4 separate regions of the Homo sapiens genome follow, and all the other regions are linked to region 1. The links are contacts of gene promoters, found by promoter capture Hi-C in human tissues and cell types (Jung and others, 2019). All regions are on one chromosome and are shown on one strand. The core of a region is centred on a gene start or on the middle of the fragment in contact, and the rest is flanking DNA. Distances in the headings are between cores, read along the strand shown.

Evidence for each region. The method cuts DNA at HindIII sites, captures the fragments that hold promoters and counts their contacts. A contact is called where the count stands out against the background at its distance.
Region 2: a contact is called between a fragment that was not itself captured here and the fragment with the promoter of OR1K1 in region 1, in 4 of the 25 tissues and cell types used here (H1 embryonic stem cells, IMR-90 fibroblasts, mesendoderm cells and 1 more).
Region 3: a contact is called between a fragment that was not itself captured here and the fragment with the promoter of OR1K1 in region 1, in 2 of the 25 tissues and cell types used here (mesendoderm cells and stomach).
Region 4: a contact is called between a fragment that was not itself captured here and the fragment with the promoter of OR1K1 in region 1, in 3 of the 25 tissues and cell types used here (H1 embryonic stem cells, IMR-90 fibroblasts and aorta).

The regions. Positions count from the first base shown.
Region 1 is chr9:122,798,541-122,801,606 of GRCh38, reverse strand. OR1K1 (olfactory receptor family 1 subfamily K member 1) reads right to left here and starts at 1,484. Exons shown (of 1, transcript NM_080859.1): 1 at 534-1,484. The coding sequence starts at 1,484. The coding sequence ends at 534. The HindIII fragment of the contact is 19,122 bases long and covers 1-3,066 here.
Region 2 is chr9:122,555,460-122,558,525 of GRCh38, reverse strand. It overlaps a transcript of OR1J2 not described here and a transcript of OR1L8 not described here. Among named protein-coding and RNA genes, the nearest start is that of OR1N2, 3.9 kb to the right of the region's middle. The HindIII fragment of the contact is 5,041 bases long and covers 1-3,066 here.
Region 3 is chr9:122,605,841-122,608,906 of GRCh38, reverse strand. It overlaps the pseudogene OR1H1P. Among named protein-coding and RNA genes, the nearest start is that of OR1Q1, 7.4 kb to the left of the region's middle. The HindIII fragment of the contact is 3,849 bases long and covers 1-3,066 here.
Region 4 is chr9:122,636,134-122,639,199 of GRCh38, reverse strand. The region is part of intron 1 of OR1B1 (olfactory receptor family 1 subfamily B member 1); the gene reads left to right. LOC124902265 (a long non-coding RNA gene) reads right to left here. Exons shown (of 3, transcript XR_007061759.1): 2 at 1,964-2,097. Among named protein-coding and RNA genes, the nearest start is that of OR1B1, 20 kb to the left of the region's middle. The HindIII fragment of the contact is 3,189 bases long and covers 59-3,066 here.

The DNA.
Region 1 (3,066 bases), core at 235-2,734:
TTCTTTTTTTTTTGAGATGGAGTCTTGCTCTGTTGCCCAGGCTGGAGCTCAGTGGCACAATCTTAGCTCACTTCAATCTTCATCTTTTGGGTTCAAGTGATTCTCTTGCCTCAGTCTCCCGAGTAGATGGGATTACAGTTGTGCGCCGCCATGCTTGGCTAATTTTGGTATTTGTAATAGAGACAGGGTTTCGCCATGTTGGCCAGGCTGATCTTGAACTCTCGACCTCAGGTGATCCACCACCTCGGCTTCTCAAAGTGCTGGGATTACAGGCGTGAGCCGCTGTGCCTGGCTGGAAAGTCACTTCTTATCTTTGAGCCTAAAGACAAATTTTCTTGTGTGTAAAACCGGATCATAATATCTGCATCCTGGGTGGCTGTGGGAATAAAATGAGATCAGGCAAGGATCTGCTTCCGGGCAGGTGCTCAGGAAATGACAGCTGTTATGATTTTTGAGCATAGCAGAGGACAGAGGGTCACGTTCAACAGTTGCCAGTGTGGGTGATGCAGTCTGTCCTCAGTGGGGTCCTGCCCTCAGGAGTCACTAGCTGAGATCCTTCGCCCAATGAGAAGGGCTCGGAGTGCCCCCTGTACATCGCGATTCCAGAGGCTGTAGATGATGGGGTTCAGCATGGGGGTGACTACAGTGTACATGACAGTGGCCACACGGCCCCACTCTGCCTCGCGTCGGGATGTGGCCTGGAAGTAGACTGCAATGACTGTCCCATAGAAGAGGCTCACCACAGCCAGGTGGGAGCCACAGGTGGACACAGCCCGGAGCCTCCCAGAGGCTGAGGGCAGCTGGAGCACGGCAGCTGCGATGGCCCCATAGGAGGCGAGGATGAGCAGGAAGGGAGTGACCACCACTGCGGCGCCCTCGGTGAAGATGAGCAGCTGGATGTGGTGGGTGTCAGAGCACGAGAGCCTTAAGAGAGGCTGGTGGTCACAGAAGAAGTGGGGCACTTGGTGGGAAGCACAGAAGGACAAGCGAGCCATGAGCAGGATATACAGGAGGGAGTGGACGTGGGACACCAGCCATGCCATTCCCACCAGGGCTGCGCACATGGCCCGGGACATCCTCGTGGCATAGGGGAGGGGGTGCCGGATGGCCACGTAGCAGTCATAGGCCATGGCCGCCAGAAGACAGCTATCAGTTACCCCCAGGGCAAAGAAGAAGTACATTTGGGTCAGGCAGCCAGCCAGCGAGATGGAGTGGTCATGGGCCAACAAGTTGGCCAACATCTTGGGCACAGTGACGGAGGCGAAGCAGAGGTCAGCAAAGGACAGGTGGGCCAGCAGGAAGTACATGGGTGCATGAAGGGCTGGACTGGCCTGGATGGCAGCCACAATGAGTCCATTACCCAGGAGGCTGGCCACATACAAGAGCAAGAACAGCACAAAGAGAGGCCGCTGCTGTCCAGGACTTGTTGTCAGTCCCAATAAAACGAATGAGATTCCCTCTGAAGACTCATTGGCAGCCTCCATGGCAGGCTGGTTATTCGCCTGGAACCTGAAGGGCTCCTTTCTATTGATGGGTCACCTCCCCGATGTCTAACGGAAAAGGTGAGGGGATAAATTGTTCAAGGCTTCCTGGCCATGGGAAAATATCAAGAGTTTAGAGTCAGGTAGCCCTGGCCCTAGGCACAGGTATGACTATGGGCAAGTCATTTCACCTCCCTGAACCTTCTTCCTTTCTGGGCCTTAGATTTTCTTTTCTTTTTTTTTTTTTTTTTTTGAGATGGAGTCTTGCTCTGTCGCCCAGGCTGGAGTGCAGTGGCACGATCTCAGCTCACTGCAAGCTCCACCTCCTGGGTTCACGCCATTCTCCTGCCTCAGCCTCCCGAGTAGCTGGGACTACAGGCGCCCGCCATCACGCCCGGCTAATTTTTTTTGTATTTTTTAGTAGAGACGGGGTTTCACCGTGTTAGCCAGGATGTTCTCGATCTCCTGACCTTGTGGGGCCTTAGACTTTCAACCTGCGAAATAAGAGAATTGAAGTAACTCATCTGCAAGGTCACGTCCAACTTTGATAGTTTGTGATTTAAGCAAAAATAGAACAAAAGATATTGCACAAGATGTAGATCAGGGAAGGAGGAAAATATGAAAGAAAAGATGAAACAGAGTGAGGTTCGACACAGAAAGATCTGGCCAATGGACATTTATTTTGGAAAAGAAAAAATGAAACCAAACCAAGATGGAGGAGAGAAACATAAGAAAGAAACTCTAGAAAAAAAATCTGAAGAGCACATATGTTTACATTGAAATGAATATGAACTCACAACACCTAGACACAAATAGTGGAATTTTAGAACACTGGAAATGAAGAGGAGACTCCAGTACTTCCTAAGGGCATGGGGTGCAATGAACTGATGATATCCATGTAATTAGATTGCCATCAAATGTTTCAATTCAACAGTAGATTATAGAACAGTTTAACAATATTCAAATTCTGAAAAAAAGCATTTCGAACTTGGAATTCTTCACTCAGCAAAAATACTACTCAAGTGTGAGTAAAGAATACAGATATTTTCAGACTTAAAACACAAAACAAGGCCGGGTGCAGTGGCTCGTGCCTGTAATCCCAGCACTTTGGGAGGCCAAGGTAGGAGGATCACCTGAGGTCAGGAGTTTGAGACCAGCCTGGCCAATGTGGTGAAACCCCATCTCTACTAAAAAAAAAAATACAAAAATTAGCCAGGTGTGGTGTCACGTGCCTGTAATCCCAGCTACTTGGGAGGCTGGGGCAGGAGAATATCTTGAACCCAGGAGGCAGAGGTTGCAGTGAGCCAAGATCGTGCCACTGCACTCCAGCCTGGGTGGCACAGTGAGACTCCATCTCACACACACACAAAAAAAGAACAAGAGAATCTGAATGACTCCTCATATCCCTGAAAACTTTCCCCATGAAATCAAACACTTACTGAGCACCAAGCAGATGCACATCACAGGGTGAGAAACTCCTGTGGACAGATGGACACATCTGCCCAGGCATAGCGACTTGACTCTTAAGGAGAGAGGCAACTTGTTTTCAATGTCTCAGTTTTTTTCCTGTCTGAATTTCATTGCA
Region 2 (3,066 bases), core at 361-2,860, 240 kb after region 1:
TGCAGAAAGTATGAAGTCAAATAGACAGGTTCAGCACTCAAAGCCACTTTAGCCCAGAAAGCATTTGTCAAACCTTTAAACAAACAAACAAAAAAGGAACTGAGCTATGGTTTACAGAGAAGTAAATACCCTCAAACTATCCAAAAGGTGAGAGATAAAACACCAGTTGAATTTAACCTTCTTTTGCAAAAAAAAAAAAAAAAAAAAAAAAAAAGCAAAATCCAAAATAAATAATCTAAGCTTCCCCACTAGGAAACTAAATCCAAAGTAAGCACAAGAAAAAAACAATAAAAATTAAAACAGAAATCAATGAAATTGAAAATAGGACAATAGGACATTATTAAAGAAAATCAACAAAACCAAAAGCTAGTTCTTTGAAAAGATCAATAAAATTGATATACCATTAATAAGTCTAACTAAGGAAAATAAAAGAAAGAAGACACAAGTTACTAATATCAGAAATGAATAAAAAAATCACTACAAATCCCATGAACATTGAAAGGATAATAAAGGAATACCATGAACAAATCTGTGCCCACAAACATGATAACTTAAATGAAATGGACCAATTCTTGGAAAGCCACAATCCACTAAAACCCATACAAGAAGAAATGAACATTAACAGGCCTATTTCTATTAAAGAAATTAACTCAATAGTTAATAACTTTCCCAAACAGAAAGTACCAGGCCTAGATGGGATCACTGGTGAATTGTATCAAACATTTAAGGAAGAATGTATGCCAATTCTCTGCAATCTCTTCTAGAAGATGGAAATAGAGTAAGAAAGAACTTTTAGCTCATTCTATGAGGCCAGCAATACTCTAATACCAAAAGTAGATAAGGTAATTACAAGAAAAGAAAACTACATACCAATATCTCTCATGAATATGGATGTAAAAATCCTTAATAAAGTACTTAGCAAATAGAATCCAAGAATGTACAAAAAGAATTATACACCATATCCAAGTGGGATTTATCTCAGGAATGCAGGGCTACTCTAACACTTAAAAATCAATTAATTTAGTTGATCACATCAATAGACTAAAGAACAACTACATAATAATATAAATAGATGCAGAAAAAGCACTTCACAAAAATCCAACACTCATTTATGATTAAAAACTCTGAGAAAACTAGGAATAGAGAGATAAAGGATATCTATTTTAAAAACTACAGTTAATATCATACTTAATGATGAGAAACTAAAAGCTCTGCACTAAGATCAGGAACAAGGCAAAAAAATGTCCCCCCTCATTACTGCTTTTGAATATCATACTGAAAGTCCTAGTAATGCATAAGACAAGAAAATGAAAAGTATACAGATTCAGAAGGAATAAATAAAACTGTCTTTATTTTCAGATGACATGATTTTTACAGAAAATCCAAAATATCCAAAAATCTCTTCTGGAACTAAAAGAATTATAGCAAGGTTTCGGGATACAGGGTTAATATACAAAAGCCAGTTGCTCTCTTACATAGCAGCAATGAACAAATGGAATTTGAAATTAAAAACACAACACCATTTACACTAGCAGCCCCCAATTTGTTAGATATAAATCTATATACAAGATTAATATGAGAAAAACTGCAGAACTGATAGGAGAAATCAAATAAGAACTAAATAAATGAAGAGATATTCCATGTTCATGTATAGGAAAACTCAATGTTATCATGGTGTCATTCTTCCCAACTTGATTAATAGATTCAACATAGCCTCAATCAAAACCCCAGCAAGTTACTTTGTGGATATCAACAAAATGCAGAGAGGCAAAAGACTCAGAATAGCTAACACATTATGGAAGAACAAGTTTGGAGGACTGACACTACTTACTTTTTTTTTCTTTTAAATTTAAGTTCTGGGATACATGTGCAGAATGTGTAGGTTTGTTACATAGGTATACATGTGCCATGGTGGTTTGCTGCACCTTTCAACCTGTCATCTAGGCTTTAAGCCCCGCATGCATTAGTTATTTGTCCTAATGCTCTCCCTCCCCTTGTCCCCTAACCCCCAACAGGCCCCGGTGGACACTACTTACTGTAAGCCTGCAGTAATTAAGATAGTGTGGCATTGACAAAAGAACAGAAAAATAGATCAATATAACAGAATAAAGAGCCCAGAAATAGACCCACATAAGTAGAGTCAACTGATTTTTGACAAAGGATGAAAGACAATGCAATGGAGAAAACAGTCTCTTCAACAAATAGTGCTGAAACAACTAGACATCCACATGAAAAAAAAAAAAGAATCTAGACACAGACATTACACCTTTCCCTGAATATTGCATACAATGAAATATTACTCAGTCTCAGAAAGAAATGAACTATCAAGCTATGAAAAGACATGGAGAAATCTTAAACACACTCTAAGTGAAAGAAGCCAATCTGAAAAGGCAATATACTGTATGATTCCAACTACATAACATTCTGGGAAAAGGTAAAACTATGGAGACAGTAAAAAGATCAGTGGTTACCACAGGGTTATGGGGAGAGGGGAATAACTAGATGAAGCACAGAGGATTTGTAGGGCAGTGAAACTATTCTGTATGATACTATAATGATGAATACATGCTATTAAGCATTTGTCAAAACCCACAGAATGCACAACACCAAGAATGAACTCCAATGTAAACTATAGACTTTGGGTGATGATGTGTCAGTGGAGGCTAATGGATTGTAATAAATGTACCACTCTGGTGAGGATTAGTTCGGGAGATTGTGCGTGTGTTGGGGCATAAAGTATATGGGAACTTTCTGCTCAATTTTTCTATAAACCAAAAACAGCTCTAAAAGAGTAAAGTCTATATATTTAAAAAAGATTGCAATGTTCATGCCTGCCTGAGTTTCCAGCCTGCCCTACAAATTTCAAACTTGCTACCCTCTACAACTGCATGAGCCAATTCCTTGAGGTAGATATCTTTATATATAAATAGACTGTAAATGGCATGGTGTAGCTGGGTGACTGGAGGGCAAAGGTGGGGATCTTAGAGGTCAGAAATTAGTTCCCAAAGAGGAGAGATATTATTCACAAACACAAAACTTGCCTTTCCCAACCTTTGCCTTGGCACT
Region 3 (3,066 bases), core at 293-2,792, 190 kb after region 1:
TGAAGTCTTGGGCTGAGAGACGCTATAGTGGTTGGGCTCTCAGGAGACTGATCCACTCCCAGCTCTGAGTCTTGGGGTCAGGATCCTAAGGTCTTGAGTAAGGGTGTTAGGATGTTTTTATTCCAAGCAGTTTTCCCAGTGCCCCCTTCATATCCCTGTTCCTCAGGCTGTAGATGAAGGGGTTCAACATGGGAGTCACCACCGTGTACATGACTGAGAAGACTCTGTCCTTTCCATCTGAGTGGGATGATGGAGGACATAAATAGACACCGATAGCTGTGCTATAGAACAGAGAGACTACAGAGAGGTGGGAAGTGCAGCTGGAGAAGGCCCTTTGCTTACCCCTTGGGGAATCAATTCTCAGGATGGCCAATGCAATGTAAAAGTAGGACATAAGGATGCAGACAAAGGGCGCAATCAGCAGTGTTCCTGCCACAAGGATGAGCACCAGATCATTGACACAAGTACTGGAGCAGGCCAGCTTCAGGAGTGGGACCAGATCACAGAAGAAGTGAGGGATAATATTTGGACCACAGAAGGAAAGCCTGGTCACTAGGAGGGTATGCACTAGGGCATGTAAAATAGTGATCACCCATGACACAGCCACCAACAGGACACAGCGTTGGGAGTTCATGGTTAGGGCATAATGGAGAGGATGGCTGATGGCCACATAGCGGTCAAGGGCCATCACAGCCAGGAGAAAGTTGTTGTCCAGATCTGCAAATAGGCCAGAGAAATAGAGTTGTGTCAGACACTCCCCATAAGAAATCAGCTTAATTCCTGAGCTAATATGATCTAGCATATTGGGAATTATTGTAGAGATAAAGCCAATATCCAAAAAGGACAGGTTGGACAGGAAGAGGTACATGGGGGGTGTGGAGGTGCAGGTCAGAGCCAATGGCCAGGATGATTAGCAGGTTCTCCAACACAGTGACCAAGTACATGACCAGGAAAAGCCCAAACAAAAGAGCCTGCTGCTCCTGGTGTTCAGAGAAGCCCATGAGAAGAAATTCATAGATGCAGGTCTGGTTTCTTCTGTCCATGTCTCAAATTCTGTGTGAAATACATTTTGTTATAAGTAGCAAAAGAGTAAAATAATGCTGTGTTAAAAGTACTTCAAACTCCTGTTTGAAAAAATTCTGTGGTTAAATAATTCTGTTTTGAGAAAGCTTGGATTTATTATTGTGCATGTTAAAAAGTTTGGGTCAGACCATTTGTCAAGTTATCGATTGGTGTCAGTATTTGATAAGATATCTAAGGCTCCTTTGAACTATTTCAGCTGTCCATATGATACATATCAGCCACCAGTAAAAGTGTGCCTTGGATTGTACATGTCCTATCTGTTTACACAAGTACTTTTCTCTTAGTAATAATATAATTAAGTAAAAAATGTAAAATACCAGAACAGTGTGTATACGCATAGTTACAGTTAAGTAAAAATGAAACAGAAATATTTGTGTATGAATAAGAACACAATCTAGAAGAACACACTCAAAAGATGGATAATGTTTGCTTCTAGGGAGTGAGTGTGGGGGGAAGAATGGTGGGTGTCAACTTCTGTATGACACACACCATTTCTTTTACTAGCATGTGTTATTTTTGAAAGTAAAAGATTATTTTTAAGTGTGATGGATGTGATGGGTTGAACTAATTTAAATGGTGGTCCAGAAGCCAATATGGAGATTTTGAGAGACCCAGAATTCTGACAAGTTAACCAGGGTGTCATCTCTAAAAAGCAGCTCTGGCAAGTAAGTAGAACAAAAATCAAATCATTTGACTTTGTGCAAAGAAAAAAAATTGAAGTTATGGAGCAAGACTTTTTCATCATAGTCACTTTACTTAGAGTAATATTTTGGCTTTCCCTAAGAAAAGCTACAGGAAATGCATTGAATTCTGCTCCAGTATCCCCAAGCATGCCTGGGAATGACACATGCTTTCCCTAACACCTCTGATATACCTCACTCGCAGGTACTCCTCACTCATAAGATAGGTGCTCCTCACTCACAGGTGCTTCTTGCAGGTGCTCCTCACTCATAGATGCTCCTCACTCATAGGTGCTCCTCACTCACAGATGATCCTTACTCAGAGGTGCTTCTCACTCATAGGATAGGTGCTCCTCACTCATAGGATAGGTGCTCCTCACTCACAGGTGCTCCACATAGGATAGGTGGTCCTCACAGGTGCTCCTCACAGATGCTCCTCACTCAGAGGTGCTCCTCACTCACAGGTGCTTCTCCAGTCAGTTTGGCTTCTCCTGGCCCCTTGGATTTAAAAACCTAAACTTTAGATGGTCTATTCCAGCTCCTGAACCCTTCCTTGCCTTATTATATTTATTTATGAGATTTATATATTTTACATCTAAATAGAAGGTGTCAAATCCTTCATTTGCCCCCAAAGCCACACCTTAATTTGTCTCTAGTGCCGCTCAAAGAATACCTTGATTTGGGACTTGAAATTCCTTTTTTCCCACAGAAGCCATAGTGAGGATATACCAGGATCTCTTAAATAGATAATACTGGACATTAAGTTTATCCAATCCACAGCCCTTGTTCTGACACTATGAAAAAAGTTGGAGTAATAATCATAGCTAATACTGGCTGAGCACTAGCCATTGCCAGGTTCTGAATTCACTTAAGTGATAGCCCTGTGCACCAGCACTGTGAATATCTTTATTTAAAAATGTAGAAACTGAAGTTCAGGGTGGCGATGCAATTGCTGAAGTCTACAGCAGCAGGTATTGAAGTGAAGTTTGTCTGAGTCAAAAGCTTAAGTTCTAAACCACTGTGCTACACTGCCTTTCAATATTCACCAAGTCATTTTCTGACTCTAGTTCAGTCTCATGCATATTTTCTATAAGGAGGGAATGCACCATCAGGGAATTTAAATATCCATTCAATTTGACAGTTGCAGTTCTCAAAGCAAATGAAGATGTGGATATTTTTGGCTTATGCCTCAATCTTTTGTGAACATGATTGACGTGAGTTAGTCTACTTTGGTCCAATCCAATGTCTGGACAAGATCCAATTTTTACACTTGATTTGTACTCTGAGATGGAGCTATCCTGAA
Region 4 (3,066 bases), core at 404-2,903, 160 kb after region 1:
AGAGTAAGAAGATGATTAACTCAAGATTCTAAAGGTTGGTTACCCTAAGCAGGAGGTAACGGGGAGGTGATGAAAAACGTCTATCTAAGTAGATATGAATTATCATCAATGTTGTTGTTTCTTTGTTGGACAGTACGTTGATGTGTGTTTATAATAATATTTAAAACCAAGTGAGTAAGCAGGCAAGCAGGTTATAATCGAACCACTGTAGTGTAGCATAAACCAAAGCTTATGATTAGTTAAATTTTGGGCTTCTGAGGCTGGGGAAATATAGTCCGTTATGAGCCTTCCATCTCTCAGTCTTGCTGAAGATTTCTCCCTTCTATTCCGGAGCTCTGTGTAAACTTTTCTCCTGCTCTAGATCCCTTCAATCAGCACAAACTAAAAGCTGCTATGAGAAGCTCACTGTAGAACTTGCTATAGTGAGACAGAGAACCAGAAATGATAATTGGAAACATGGGTCCTGCCTGGGGTCAGGGAAAGACCATCTAGGGGAACTTCATGGCTCAATGCACAGGCCTGATGATTATAATTCACAAGTATTGTGACCTTTTCTTTTTCCATAAGGTCTTGGCAAATTGTTTTGGAGATAAATCTCTGATTATCTTAGTTCTCGGATAGATATTACCTAATTCTGGGTTCTCCATAATGTACTAGCTTGAGTATCCTGGTGCTGAATGTGTGATGTGGATATTATTTTGAGTTAGAAAGGTATGCTTAACCTTAGAAGGCATCAATAATAAAAACCACTAGAAAATAAAAGTCTTATATCTCCATTGCTACCCTTGGCTTTATTGTTTATATTTTAATAGGAAAAGCTTCACAGTATAGAAAAATACATAGGAACCAAAACAATGAACTACATATACTAAACACCCAACTTCAACAAAACTTAAATTTGCCCTTTTTTGTTTCAGTTCTTACCTTGAAAAAATTGACTGCTATAGATACAATTAAAGCCCAAACTGCTTCTCTTTCCTCTTTTCCTAAAGAAAACTACTATCCCAAATAAGCTATTCATTATTTTCCTGCATATTTCTAGAATTTCACTATGTATGTTTTATAAAAATGACAGAATTCTCTTGCATGTTTTACAACTTTATATCTGTTGTTATACTTTTCTATCATTTTGCAACGGGCCTTTCCCAGTTAACATTATGTCTTGGAGTTTTACACTCCATGCATGTTGTTTTGATTTCAAATGCTGTATAGTGTGAATGAAACACAAGTTAAAATATTTATGTAGAGTTATAGCACTATATTTAACTGAATTACCTATTCTTCATCACTGAAGAATGCCATCACTGTTATATACCACAATTTCTACAAATCGTGATTTTGTTTTTGGGACTGTCCATTTCTGTATCTGTATATCCATTTTTTAGCCACATATTGGGCTACAAAATGAATCTTAAAAAACTTCAAAGAAGTAACCTCACAGAGATTAAATTCTCTGGCCAGAATGCTATTAAATTAGAAACTGGTAACAAAAAGATAGTTTAAGAAAATGTTTGCAAACTAAGAATGCAGTGTAAAATATTACTTAAGGCCTTAAAGAAAGCTTGAGGGAAGGGCCAAGTGCAACTTCTGCCAGTGCATTGAGAAAGAGAAGACTGCATTTACCAAATTTGTTGGGATAAAAATGTATGAGTTTTCCTTAGACTAACTTTCCTTGGACCCAAGGATGGTACATGAGCTGTGTCATCTTGAAAATCATTCCACCTAAGAGAATTTCTTGCTAGAGTAAGGCAATCCTAGAAGAAGCTTAGAAGGGTGCAGTCAGATGTCCAATGTAAGGGAGGGGGCTCTAAGGGATCAGACAGGGTTTGAATTAGTCTCATCTGGGAAGAATGCAGTAATAGTTACCTATAGGTGGTCTCAAATGGGCCAATATGATGTTCCGCAAGAGAAGAGAGTCAGTATTTGTAACTTCTACCAGCTCTATCTTTCAAAGAGACCTTACCTTTCCGTTTCCCTTCTTCAAATCAACACTGCAATAGCCAGAGACAGAAAAGGATGGATAAGATGGTGCAAAGATGAAGACAGTCGCATCCCTCTTTCCCTAATGCAGGTTTCTGGATGAAAATATAAACCCTGCTGGGGAAGAAAGCACAGTTTAAATTGCTTGAGAATTAAAATTTTTATATTCTAATGTGTTGGAATTTTAGTACCTAAAAATGAGACTTTTCAAAAAGCAGTCGTGTGAAAAAAGTTACTTCCTACTTTACCTCTGCAAAGTTCATTTTCTTCCAAAAATACTCTCTTAACGGAATATGTTCTCCTTTAATCTTCTCTACCTTATGAGAAATTTTGTCACTATTTGACAGATGAGAAAGCATAACTTGCTTAAGATCACATAGTTAATAAATGGCAGATATGGAGTGAAACTCCAGGTAAGTCTGACTCCGAAACCTTTGTATTAACTTCTAGACCACTGCCCTTTAGTAGAAAATCTTTTTTGTTTGGTTAACAAATGTTTAACGAGCACCCACTCATTCCCCAGCTCTGTGTTAGGTATTAGGAAGTCAGTGATGAATGTACATGTGTGTGTTTGTTTGTTTATTTATTTATTTATTTATTTTTGAGACAGAGTTTCATTCTTGTTGCCCAGGCTGGAGTGCAATGGCATGATCTTGGATCACTGCAACCTCTGCCTTCTGGGTTCAAGCATTTCTCCTGCCTCAGCCTCCCAAGTAGCTGGGATTACAGGCACCTGCCACCAGGCTCGGCTAATTTTTTGTATTTTTGGTAGAGACTGGGTTTCACCGTGTTGCCCAGGTGGGTCTTGAACTCCTGACCTCAGGTGATCCACCCGCCTTGGCCTCCCAAATTGTTGGGATTACAGGCGTGAGCCACTGCTCCTGGCCAGTATATATGTGTATGTATGCGTGCATGCATGTGTGTATCTACATGGGTTCATATGTGTATATGTGTGTGTATACACACATGGTAACAGTGTACATTGGGAGATAGGCAAGTCAGTATTTACGAAGTTACTTGAAAAGCAAAAAATGCTCCACTAAAATGACCGTGCAGGGACTTGGTGAAGTCTCCAAGTAGAAACGA